Linked DNA regions of Homo sapiens: region 1 is linked to region 2. Evidence: promoter capture Hi-C in human tissues and cell types (Jung and others, 2019). All regions are on one chromosome and are shown on one strand. The core of a region is centred on a gene start or on the middle of the fragment in contact, and the rest is flanking DNA. Distances in the headings are between cores, read along the strand shown.

Evidence for each region. The method cuts DNA at HindIII sites, captures the fragments that hold promoters and counts their contacts. A contact is called where the count stands out against the background at its distance.
Region 1: a contact is called between a fragment that was not itself captured here and the fragment with the promoter of XPA in region 2, in 1 of the 25 tissues and cell types used here (H1 embryonic stem cells).

What each region holds. Positions count from the first base shown.
Region 1 is chr9:97,880,121-97,885,935 of GRCh38, reverse strand. No RefSeq gene overlaps it. Among named protein-coding and RNA genes, the nearest start is that of FOXE1, 30 kb to the right of the region's middle. The HindIII fragment of the contact is 4,836 bases long and covers 852-5,687 here.
Region 2 is chr9:97,695,059-97,700,726 of GRCh38, reverse strand. XPA (XPA, DNA damage recognition and repair factor) reads left to right here and starts at 3,387. Exons shown (of 6, transcript NM_000380.4): 1 at 3,387-3,606. The coding sequence starts at 3,435. PTCSC2 (papillary thyroid carcinoma susceptibility candidate 2) reads left to right here. Exons shown (of 11, transcript NR_147055.1): 11 at 656-1,102. It also overlaps the pseudogene KRT18P13. RefSeq lists a silencer at 3,226-3,325 and enhancers at 3,876-3,925, 3,936-3,995. The HindIII fragment of the contact is 10,254 bases long and covers 1-5,668 here.

The sequences.
Region 1 (5,815 bases), core at 2,020-4,519, 190 kb before region 2:
TATTTTGGTGACACAAAAGAAACTTTACTAATGTGGGCATAAAATATTCGAGTAATTTTACATAAGCATTACATAATGATGTATAATAAAGGATTTACTGATATCCTTTTATACCTAGATATATGCTGTTATATAAAAATACAAATGACTACTAAATCTAAAGCTTATGTCTATCGCTTTGAAACACAAAGTATCAGTATATTAAATAAAACAAGATATGTGTATATTTACTAGCTGAATAAACTGAAACAACTTTTAAAAATAAACATTAATCATATCCATTATATTGCATACATGTTTGTATTTATCTATAATTATTATTCTTAGAATAGTCAACCAATTACAGTAATTATCATCTTTAACCCAAGTACAGTCATAACCTAAGTATGTTTATGTCAGTAATGGGCTGCAATATATGGTGGTGGTCCCATGAGATTATAATGGAGCTGAAAAATTCCTATCGCCTAGCAAGATCCAGCCGTCGTATCATCATAGCACAATGCACTACTCATGTGTTTGGGGTGATGCTGGTATAAACAAACCTAATGCACTGCCAGTCTTATAAAAGTATAGCATATACACGATGTATAGTACATAATACTTGATAATAAATGACTATGGGCTGGGTACAATGGCTCATGTCTGTAATCCCAGCACTTCAAAAGGCTGAGATGGGGTATGGCTTGAGTTTGAAACCAGCCTGGGCAACATGGTGAAAACTCATCTGTACATTTCTATAAGAAATACAAAAATTAGCCAGTCATGGTGATGTGTGCCTGTAGTCCCAGGTACTCGGGAGGCTGAGGTGGGAGGATGGCTTGAGCCTGGGAGGTGGAGGTTGCAGTGAGCCGAGATCCCACCACTGCACTCCAGCCTGGGCAACAGAGCCAGACTCTGTTTCAACTTAAAAAATAACAACAACAATAACAAACAACTATGTTACTGATTTATGTATTTATTATACCATACTTTTAATCATTATTTTAGAGCATACTCTTTCTACTTATGTAAAAAGAAGTAAAATAGCCTCAGGTAGATCCTCCAGGAGGCGTTCTAGAAGAAGGCATTGTTATCATAGGAGAGGACAGCTCCGTGTGTGTTATTGTCCCTGAAAACCTTCCAGTGGAACAAAATATGGAGGTGAAAGACAATGATATGGATGACATGGTGAAACCCCGTCTTTACTAAAAATACAAAAATTAGCTGGGCATGGTGGCACATGCCTGTAATCCCAGCTACTTGGGAGGCTGAGGCAGGAGAATTGCTTGAGCCCGGGAGGCAGAGGTTGCAGTGAGCCGAACTTGTGCCACTGCACTCCAGCCTGGCTGACAGAGCGAGACTCTGTCTCAAAAAAAAAAAAAAAAAAAATTGAGATATAATTCACATACTATAAAATTCACCGTTTTAGTACACTTTGATGGCTTAATTATTTTTTTAAGAAATGGGGTCTCACTCTGTTGCCCAAGCTGGGGTGCAGTAGTGCAATCATAGCTTACTGCAGCCTTGAAATCCTGGGCTCAAGCAATCCTACCACCTAAGCTTCCCAAGTAGCTGCGACTATAGGTGTGTACCACCACACTGACTAATGTTTAAAAATTGTAGAGACAGGATCTCACTATGTTGCTCAGGCTAGTCTTGAACTCTTGGCTTCAAGCGATCCTCCCACCTAGGCCTCCCAAAGCGCAGAGATTATAGGTGTGAGCCACTGTGCCTGGCCTAAAGTGTACAATTAGGTGTTTTTTAGGATAGTTTCAGAGTTCTACAATCATCACCACTATCTAATTCCAGAACATTTCATAATTCCTTGAGGAAATCCTGTGTAACCATTATCAGTCACTTCTTATTTCACCCTCCCCCTAAGTCCCTAATAACTACTAATCTTTCTTTCTCTGTGGATTTGGCTATTTTGGATATTTCGTATAAATGGAATTAGATTATATGTGGCCTTTCGTGTCTGGTTCCTTTCACTTAACCTAATGTTTTCAATTTTTTTTCATGTTGTAATATGTATCAGTACTTCATTCCTTTTTATGGCTAAATGATATTCCGTCATATAAATATACCACATTTCGTTTATGCATTTATCAGTTGATGGACATTTAGGCTGTTTTCACTTTTTGGCTGTTATGATTAATGCTGCTATGAACATTCATGTACAAGTTATTGTATGTACATATGCTTTCATTTTTCTTGGGTGTATACCTAGGAATAGAATTGCTGGGTCATTTGCTAGTTTTATGTTGAGCTTTTTGAGAAATTGCCAAACTGTTTTCCACAGTGGCTGTACCATTTTACATTACTACAGCAATGCACAAAGATTCCAAATTCTCATTGTGGTTTTGACTTCTAGTTTCCTAAAGACTAATAATGAACATCTTTTCATTTCTTATTGGCCATTTGTATATCTTCTTTGGACAAATGTCTATTGAAGTACTTTACTAATTTTCAAATTTTTTTATTGTTGAGTTGTGAGAGTTTAAAAATATGTATATTCTGGCTATTAGACCTTTATCAGATACATGATTTGCACATATTTCCTCTCATTCTTTGTCTTTCTACTTTCTTGACAGTGTCCTTTCACATGCAAAGTTTTTAGTTTTGATAAAGTCCAGTTATCTGTTTTTTCTTTTGTTACTGTGCTTTGTTTTTGGTATTATATCTAAGAAACTGTTGAGTAATCCAACATCACAAAGATATACATCTGTGTTTTCTTTTATAAGTTTTATAACATTGTCTATAAACATTAAGGTCTTTATTCCATTTTGAGTTAGTTTTAGCATATGGTGTGTGGTAGGGATCTGAATTCATTCTTTTGCATGTGGATATCCAGTTGTCTCAGCACTATTTGTTGAAAAGGCAATTCTTTTTCCATTTAACGTACATTTGTTGAAAATCAATGACTATTGATTTCCACTGAAGGCACACTGGTTGAAAATCAACGACTATTGATTATGCCAGTAAGGCATAAGGATAGACATATAGATAAATGGAATGGTTTTCATTGCTGTCATTTTGTAGTTTTTTTGTGTGTTTTTATTTTTATTTTTTGAGACAGGGCCTCTGTTTGTCACCTATGCTGGAATGCAGTGGCATGAACACAGCCCACTGCATCCTTAACCTTCTCCTGGGCTCAAGCAATCTTTCTGCCTCAGCCTTCCAAATTGCTGGGACCACAGGTGCATGCCACCATACCTGCCTAATTTTAAAAAAAATTTGTAGATACAGTCTCACCATATAGCCCAGGCTGGTGTCAAACTCCTGGGCTCAAGCAATCCTCCCGCCTTGGCCTCCCAAAGTGCTAGGATTACAGGTGTGAGCCACCGTGCTCAGCCCAATTTCATTTTTTGATTATTCATAATTGACTTTTTTTTTAAAAAGTGAAAGCCAGTTTATTAAAAGAAAATAAAGGAATAAAATAATGGCTACTCCATAGGCAGAGCAGCTCATAACTGACTTTTAAAACAATGCAGTTGCATTATTCTGATAAAAAATGAAAATTAATTCTAAAAATAAGAAAAAAACAGTGTTTGGCAGAGGCTTCATATAAAATTTGAAAATAAGCCTGATACAGAATCCCATTTAGCAAACAAATTATATGAAATTTTTATTTCCAGTAGTTTAGCTCTCCCACTGCAAAAACCCAAATGGTAGATAAATTAGAGCAAAATAATTTAAAATACATTTATGGACTCACAAGAAAATAAAGTCCTTTTCACAATGCTAAAGGCAAATGTTTGTTGAATTGAAATTATATATCAAGTAATGCTATGTTTTAAGAATAAGGGATACATTCTGGGAAGATAGTGATAAATGCAGAATTTTGAGAACAACTTAATAGCAAATCCTCAAGCCCATGCACAGTATTGACAATAAGACTAGGTGACCAGGTATTATCATAAAGCGCACAATATCAAAAGTGGAAACAAAAGGCAATGAGATGGACAATATGAGAGAATAGAAAATTCTATGATTATTATAAGGGATTGTACATTCAACTATTAAGAGACCCAGAGAGAACAGGAGATGTGATGAGGAGAGATGTGTTAAGGAAGTAACATAGGAAATGTCCTAGAATTGTAGGGTATGAATCTCAAAAATGAAAGGTCCTATCAAGTACCCCATACAACAAATGAGAAAAGCCTTATATTAAGATACATCACTGTGAAATTACAGAGCACAAAGAAATAGAGAAAATCCTATAATCTTACAGAGAAAAATGGGTTGCAGAAAGGATTAGAAAGAATAATGGCATCATTTCTAGAAGGCAATGGAGCCATGCCATCAAGATTCAGAGTGAGAATTATTTCCAACCTAGAATTTAATACCCAATGAAACTATCAATGAAGTATGAAGGTAGAAAAATTCATTTTCAGATATGCAAGGTGCATTAGTTAGGATATAAATATTGAGAGGAGGTAGATAAACTTAAGAAAAACAAAAATTATATAAGAAATGTGACATATTTATTGCTTGGCTTATCAGAAAATAAGCTTGATGCATCATAATATACTCGTATAGTAAACACTGGACAGCTATGATGTAGATGTAACTATTTTGGTAGACAGTGGTAGGAATAAACTGGAGAGAAGTGGGTAGAGAGGCAAATCTTTATCTTTTTCAGTTGGAACTCAAAACACATCTTTGCTGGGCCAGTGGCTCACGCCTGTAATCCCAACACTTTGGGAGGCCGAGGCAGGTGGATCACCTGAGGTCAGGAGTTTGAGACCAGCCTGGTCAGCATTGTGAAATCCCGTCTCTACTAAAAATACAAAAAAATTAGCCGAGTGTGGTGGCGGGCACCTGTAATCCCAGCTACTCGGGAGGCTGAGACAGGAGAATCGCTTGAACCCAGGAGGTGGAAGCTGCAGTGAGCTGAGATTGCACCACTGCACTCCAGCCTGGGCAACAAGAGTGAAACTCTGTCTCAGAAAAAAATCAATCAATCAATCAAACAAACAAAAAACACATCTTCTACAATTAAAGAATTTTGAGATTGCAATTACAGATAACAACTACTGTAACCTATATAATATCCTTTTCCTCTTATTTACTAACAGAACACTGATTTTACTTGAGGAAGCTGAGCATTCAGCTAAAAATTAAAAATCTGCCCATCTTTTCTGCAGTGGGGGTGGCCTTGTGACACAATTGTAGCCATTGAAATGTAAGGAGAGGTCCCTGGCAGTGATGTTGAAATGTAAGCAGTCAAGCGGGTTGTCCAGGTACAGTGGCTCATGCCTGTAATCCCAACACTTTGGGAGGCAGAGGCAGGGGAATAGCTTCAGCTTGGGAGTTCAAAACCAGCCTGGGCAATGTAGCAAGACTCTGTCTTTATGGAAAAAAAAATTGTCCAGCGTGGTGGTGCGTCAGTGTAGTCCTAGCTACAGCCACTTGGCAGGCAGAAGTGGGAAGGTCTCTTGAGCCCGGAAAGGTCAAGCTGCAGTGAGCCATGATACATTTAAAAAAAAAAAGAAGGTTGACTCAACTAGCACTTTTCTTTTGTGCCTTTTCATCCATCTACTTACTCCTGCCCTAGTTGCAGACATATGGCTGGAGCTCTGGCAACTCTATTGAAAAGACTAAGACAGAGGTATAGGGTCACCCCTGAAGATCACAGCTATAAAAGGGAAAGCTGTAAGGAGCCAGGTCCTTTTGGCATCATAGACTGCAATATTACCTCTGAACTCCTTTTGACATCAGAGAAAATAACACTGTATCTTTAGGTTTCTGTTACTAGTGCATTTCCTACTTGATAATCAATATATGGATATATAATAGGGGAGTCTAATTGCTTTAACAAATAGATGCCAATATG
Region 2 (5,668 bases), core at 2,138-4,637:
TCAGAACTTTGGTGTCGTTGGTCAGACACCACTTTGCCATCCACTATCCGGCGGGTGGTGGTCTTTTGGATGGTTTGCATGGAGTTGCTGCTGTCCAGGGCATCACCAAGATTGAAGTCCTTGCCATCCTCCAGCAGGCAGCAGTAGGCAGTGCTCTCAGCCTCCAGCTTGACCTTGATGTTCAGCAGGGCCTTGTACTCTTGAGCCTGGCACTGTCCCTCTGCCCGGGTCTGTGCCAGCTCTGACTCCAGGTGCAGCAGGATCCCGTTGAGCTGCTCCCTCTGCAAGGCATAGCGGGCCTCGACCTCCCTCAGGCTGTTCTCCAAGCTGGCCTTCAGATTTCTCATGGAGTCCAGGTTGATCTTCAAGGACTGGACTATACATCTCAGCTCCGTGAGCATCATCCCAGCAGCTCCAACCTCGGTGGACTGCGTGGTGACCACTGAGGTGCTCTCCTCAATCTGCTGAGACCAGTATTTGTCCAGCTCCTCTCAGTTCTTCCGAGCCAGCTCATCATATTGGGGCCGGATGTCTGCCATGATCTTGGCAAGGTCCCGAGACTGGGGGCATCTACCTCCATGGTCAACCCAGAGCTGGCAATCTAGGCTTGTAGGCCTTTTGTAATGCCCAACCTCATTTTTCCTTTTTCACCTAGGCTTGTTTCCACCTGAACAGACTCTCCCTTAGCTAAGAGAACCAGACAAACTCCATCTTGGCTCTTTCACTGGCAGCCCCTTCCTCAAGGACTTAACTTGTGCAAGCTGACTCCCAGCACATCCAAGAATGCAATTAACTGATAAGATACTGTGGCAAGCTATATCCACAGTCCCCAAGAATTCATCTGTTTGATAACGCCCAAAGCCCTGCATCTATAACCTTGTAATAGTCTTAAAGCCCCTGCATCTGGAACTGTTTACTTTCCTGTAACCATTTATCCTTTTAACTTTTTGACTACTTAACTTCTGTAAAATTGTTTTAACTAGACGACCCCCCCTTTCTAAACCAAGGTATAAAAGTTAATCAAGCCCCTTCCTCGGGGCCGAGAGAATTTTGAGCGTTAGCCGTCTCTCGGTCGCCGGCTAATAAAGGACTCTTAATTCATCTCAAAGTGTGGCGTTTTTTTAACTCGCTCGGGTACAACACTTTTACTTCCTCTTCGTGGTTCTTCTTCATGAAGAGCAGCTCCTCCTTGAGAGCTTCGATCTCTGTCTCCAGCTGCAGCCGAGTGACACTGGTGTCATCAGTGACCTCCGGAGCCCATGGATGTGGCTCTCCACAGACTGGCGCATGGCCAGCTCTGTCTCATACTTGACTCTAAAGTCATCAGCAGCAAGACCAGCATTGTCAATCTGCAGAACAATGCAGGCATTGTCCACAGTATTTGTGAAGATCTGAGTCCTCAGGCCCTCAATGGTCTTGAAGTAATGGCTCATCTCTGACCTGGGGTCCCTTCTTCTACAGGTGCTCCTGGATTTTACTCTCCAGCTTCCAGTTCTTGGCCTCCAGGCTCCTCATTCTGTCCAGGTAGGAGGCCAGGCAGTTGTTCAGGTTTTGCACGGTCTCCTTCTTGTTCTGGATGCCTCTCATTCCTGCCAGACCCCTGGCCATCCCCGCGGCCAGGCCCCCGGAACCCATGCTGCTCAGGTAGCTGGTGGAGCGGGACATGGAGATCCGGGAACCAGAGCCCCCGTGCCTGTACAGACGCTGGCTATGCTGCTGACCAGCCGGACACCGTAGCTGGGTGCCTGGACAGAACCCAGGGACCGGTAGTTGGTGGAGAAGGTGGAGCGAGTGGTGAAGCTTATGCTGTCCAGGGAGGAGAGTGAGAGGACAGGACTCAGGCTTTGCCGACGACTTTAATTTTTTTTTGAGACAAGATGTTATTGTGTTGCCCAGGCTGGAGTGTAGTGGTGCCATCACAGCTCACTGCAGCCTTGACCTCCTGAGATGGGTTCTTGTTACATTGCCCAGGTTGGTCTTGAACTCCTGGTCTCAAGCAATCCTCCTGTGTTGGCCTCCCAAAGGGCTGGGATTACAGACATGAGCCACTGCACCTTGCCAATTATTATTATTTTTTAATAGTGACAGGGTCTCACTGTGTTGCCTCAGCTTGTCTTGAACTCATGACCTCAAGTCATCCTCCTGCCTTGGCCTCCCAAACTGTTGAGATTACAGGTGTGAACCACTGTGCCCAGCCTAGTTTTTAATTTTAATGAAGTCCAGCTTTTTTTCTTTTGTTGCTTGTGCTTTTGATGTTATGGAATTTGAAATAGTTTCACCTGGGCAAGATTGATGGGTAGGGAGAAAGAAGGATCTGAGGGGAAGGGAGATGGGGATGGCTTGAGATTCTATCTCCAATTCAACCTAAGATTTCAGCAGGTAACTGCTTTATACGAGGTTTTGCAGCTTTATGTATATATGACCGATAAATTAGAACACTGAATTGTGTTTCTGAAAGGTTAACCATTGAACATTAGTGGGAAACATCAGTGTGTGAGGTTGTCTTTCTAAAAGCCAGTCCTAAATGGTACATGTAGTAATTAGAAGTTAATGTTTTCTGGTTTCAATTAAGCATTATTTGTAACAAAGGGAAAGCATACATTTTTGGGAAAGCCTGCTATGTTTCTTTTGTTACACTAGCCACACTTTTGGGAAGTCAGGATATTTGGCCCAGATCCAAACCCACTGTCTACCTGGCAGTAGCTCATCCTCACTGAAGGAATATTCCATGGGAAAGATAGCCAACCTTATGCATATCAGCCTTGGAGCAAGTCCTGCATTTGCCTGAGGTCACACAGCAAGTTAACTGGGAGTTTCAACCCAGGTCTTCTCATTTTAAATCTAAGGCTGTGTCTCTAGGCCGTGTATCCAACATAAAATCAGGACTATCATCTGTTGGGCTCTATGACTGGCACTACTACTACTCACTGTTACCATTTTTTGAGGTCTTCTACGTGCCAGGTTATTGTCCTGGCAATCTAATCCTCCCAAAGACTCGGTAAATGGTTCCATAATTATCCTCATTTTACCACTGAAGAAACTGAACTCTGGTTAAATAACTTGCCCAAGGTCACACAGACTTTAACTGTCAAGAGCTCAGACTTAACCCAGGCCTGACTCCAAAGCCTATACTCTGAATCACCAAGCGAGACCTATTTTAAAGGTGACCAGGTCGTGAGATATGATCTCAGCACGGACCCTTCTCCCGGATGACAAGAGAGCAGGTAGTTAGGCGGGTACTCCGTGTCCGCGCATACCCAGACTCCGCCCAGCGCCCGGGCAGGCCACCCCGAGCCCCTTAACTGCGCAGGCGCTCTCACTCAGAAAGGCCGCTGGGTGCGGGGAGCGCAGAGGCGGTGCAGGGCGGCTGGCTCGCCTCGGCGTGCAGTGCGCGTGCGTGGAGCTGGGAGCTAGGTCCTCGGAGTGGGCCAGAGATGGCGGCGGCCGACGGGGCTTTGCCGGAGGCGGCGGCTTTAGAGCAACCCGCGGAGCTGCCTGCCTCGGTGCGGGCGAGTATCGAGCGGAAGCGGCAGCGGGCACTGATGCTGCGCCAGGCCCGGCTGGCTGCCCGGCCCTACTCGGCGACGGCGGCTGCGGCTACTGGAGGTTTGGGCCGCGTCCGCGCTTTCCCCTTCCCTCTCCCCGCCTCCCCGGTCCCCAGACTGGCTCGTGCAAGCCGAGTCCCGGGGCCCGGGGGTCGCGTCAACTCCGCTGGCGTATGTGTGCAGATTCTCCCCGAGTCGGAGAGGGAATCCGCCCAGCCAGCCGCCTTGTCAAAGCGTCCTGTCCACGACCACAGAGCGTTCCTCTGTCGCACGCGGGCCTCCTGACCCCCAGCCCCGGGCCTTCTTCGCTGCACCTCGGCTGCTGGCAGCTTCGATTTTTCGTTTAGGGATGCAGCCGCCCCGGCCGGGAGGTGTCAGCCACTGCCAGGTGTCAGGGCCTCAGCTGTCCCGGAAAGAGGAGTTAGACTAGTTCTTGATTCTGGCCTCTATACCTAGAACTAGTTGATGGAAGAGGCAGATCTTGGTGTTTGTTAGGGAGAGCTTTCAACAATTAGAGTTGCCAAAAGTGCAATGGATTGCTTCTCATGAGCTTCCCGTTACTAGAAGCGCTCAAATAGGAACTGGAAGAACGCTTACTTATGTGGAGGAGAGGAGATTCAGCAATCAGAATCTCCTACTCAGCAATCAGAAGAAGGGACTGGATAGTAAACCTTTAAGATTCTAATCCATAGATTCCATGAGTCTATTTCTTGGACATGTGACCTCTGCGATTTCTTGGCAAAAACTAGTTGCTCAAAACGTGTTTATTGATTGAAGTAAATTAAGGACTGATCTCTCATTGCAGATTATTCTCTTATAGAATTTGCCACTGGGGTCAACTAATAATCTTTAACAGGATACTTAAAATATAGTTTGGTTGACAGGCAGTTCTTCAGGGCTGCCTCTATAACATGAAGTACATGTGTTCCTAAAGCTCTATACTGCCCTTTGTCGAGCACAGTTTAGAGCTGTATTACTCTTTTTTATCAGCCAGATGTAGTGAGAGTGAGAAGAGTCTGAGGCTGGCAGCATGTCTTGATGTTCATACTAACACCGAAACTGCAAATTCCAGCTACTTTTGATGGTACTGGTCTCATCCTTTCTACTTTATAGTGGTTACCTTTTATTCCTTTCTAAACTTGAGGCACGCTAGAGTCAGACAGAAAGTTCATTTGCACTGATTAATTCATAGTCATGATTCCATAAAGGTTTCCAGGTCTACGACATGGCTGTGGAACGGAAGGTGCAAAATAGCAAAAACTGACATTAAATTAAACTTTTGATCATGGAAAGCAAGGTAGAATGAACATTCTTTAAGATTTCTTAGGCAGTTCCCCAAGAACTGAACTGTATTGTAGCATTGTGTACAACCCACCATGTTTCAAGAGTTAGGTAAGTGCTGAGATTTTTATCTTTGTGACACTTTTATTTCATGGTACTATACAATTTTCTTTTTCTCTGTGTGCCATGACATATGCCATGAAAGACTGAAAAAACTTGCTTAGAATACGAAGAGTGGTGCTAAGGTCCTGGGGAAACAGCAAGGCATAGCAGCAGAGAGAAATCGGACTTTGTTTTGGGCATGAGTTAGCATTGTTTAGGATCCTGCTCAAGTCATGGGCTCGACTACTCCAGCTTTCCCTCTTCTTAATTCTCATTGTGTTTACTGTCATTCCATTCATTTACTTTGCTATTTATATTACATATTCTGGTAGGTTCATTCATTTCTATCCATCCAGTTGGTACTCATGGAATGTTTACTATTTGTCAGAAGTATACAAGTAAAGGCACTCAGTCTAATGAAGGGATACAGAGAGATGAACAGGCATTATAGTGTGAGAATTGCTGTTAACAGTGGAAACAAGTTTATAATCTAATCCTTTCATTTAATAGAGGGAGAAATTGAGGCCAGAGAAGGGGAGTGACTGTAGCAGAATAAAACATATTAATCTGTCTTAATAAATGGAGGTGTAACATACTGTAAAATGTACTCATCTGAATTTTACCTATGTGAATGCTTGTGTAAACACCATCGTGATCAAGACATGTACACTTCCGGAACCTTAGAAGTTTTCCTATTGCGCCTTCCTAGTCGGTGTCCACTCTCTACTCTCAGAAGTAAT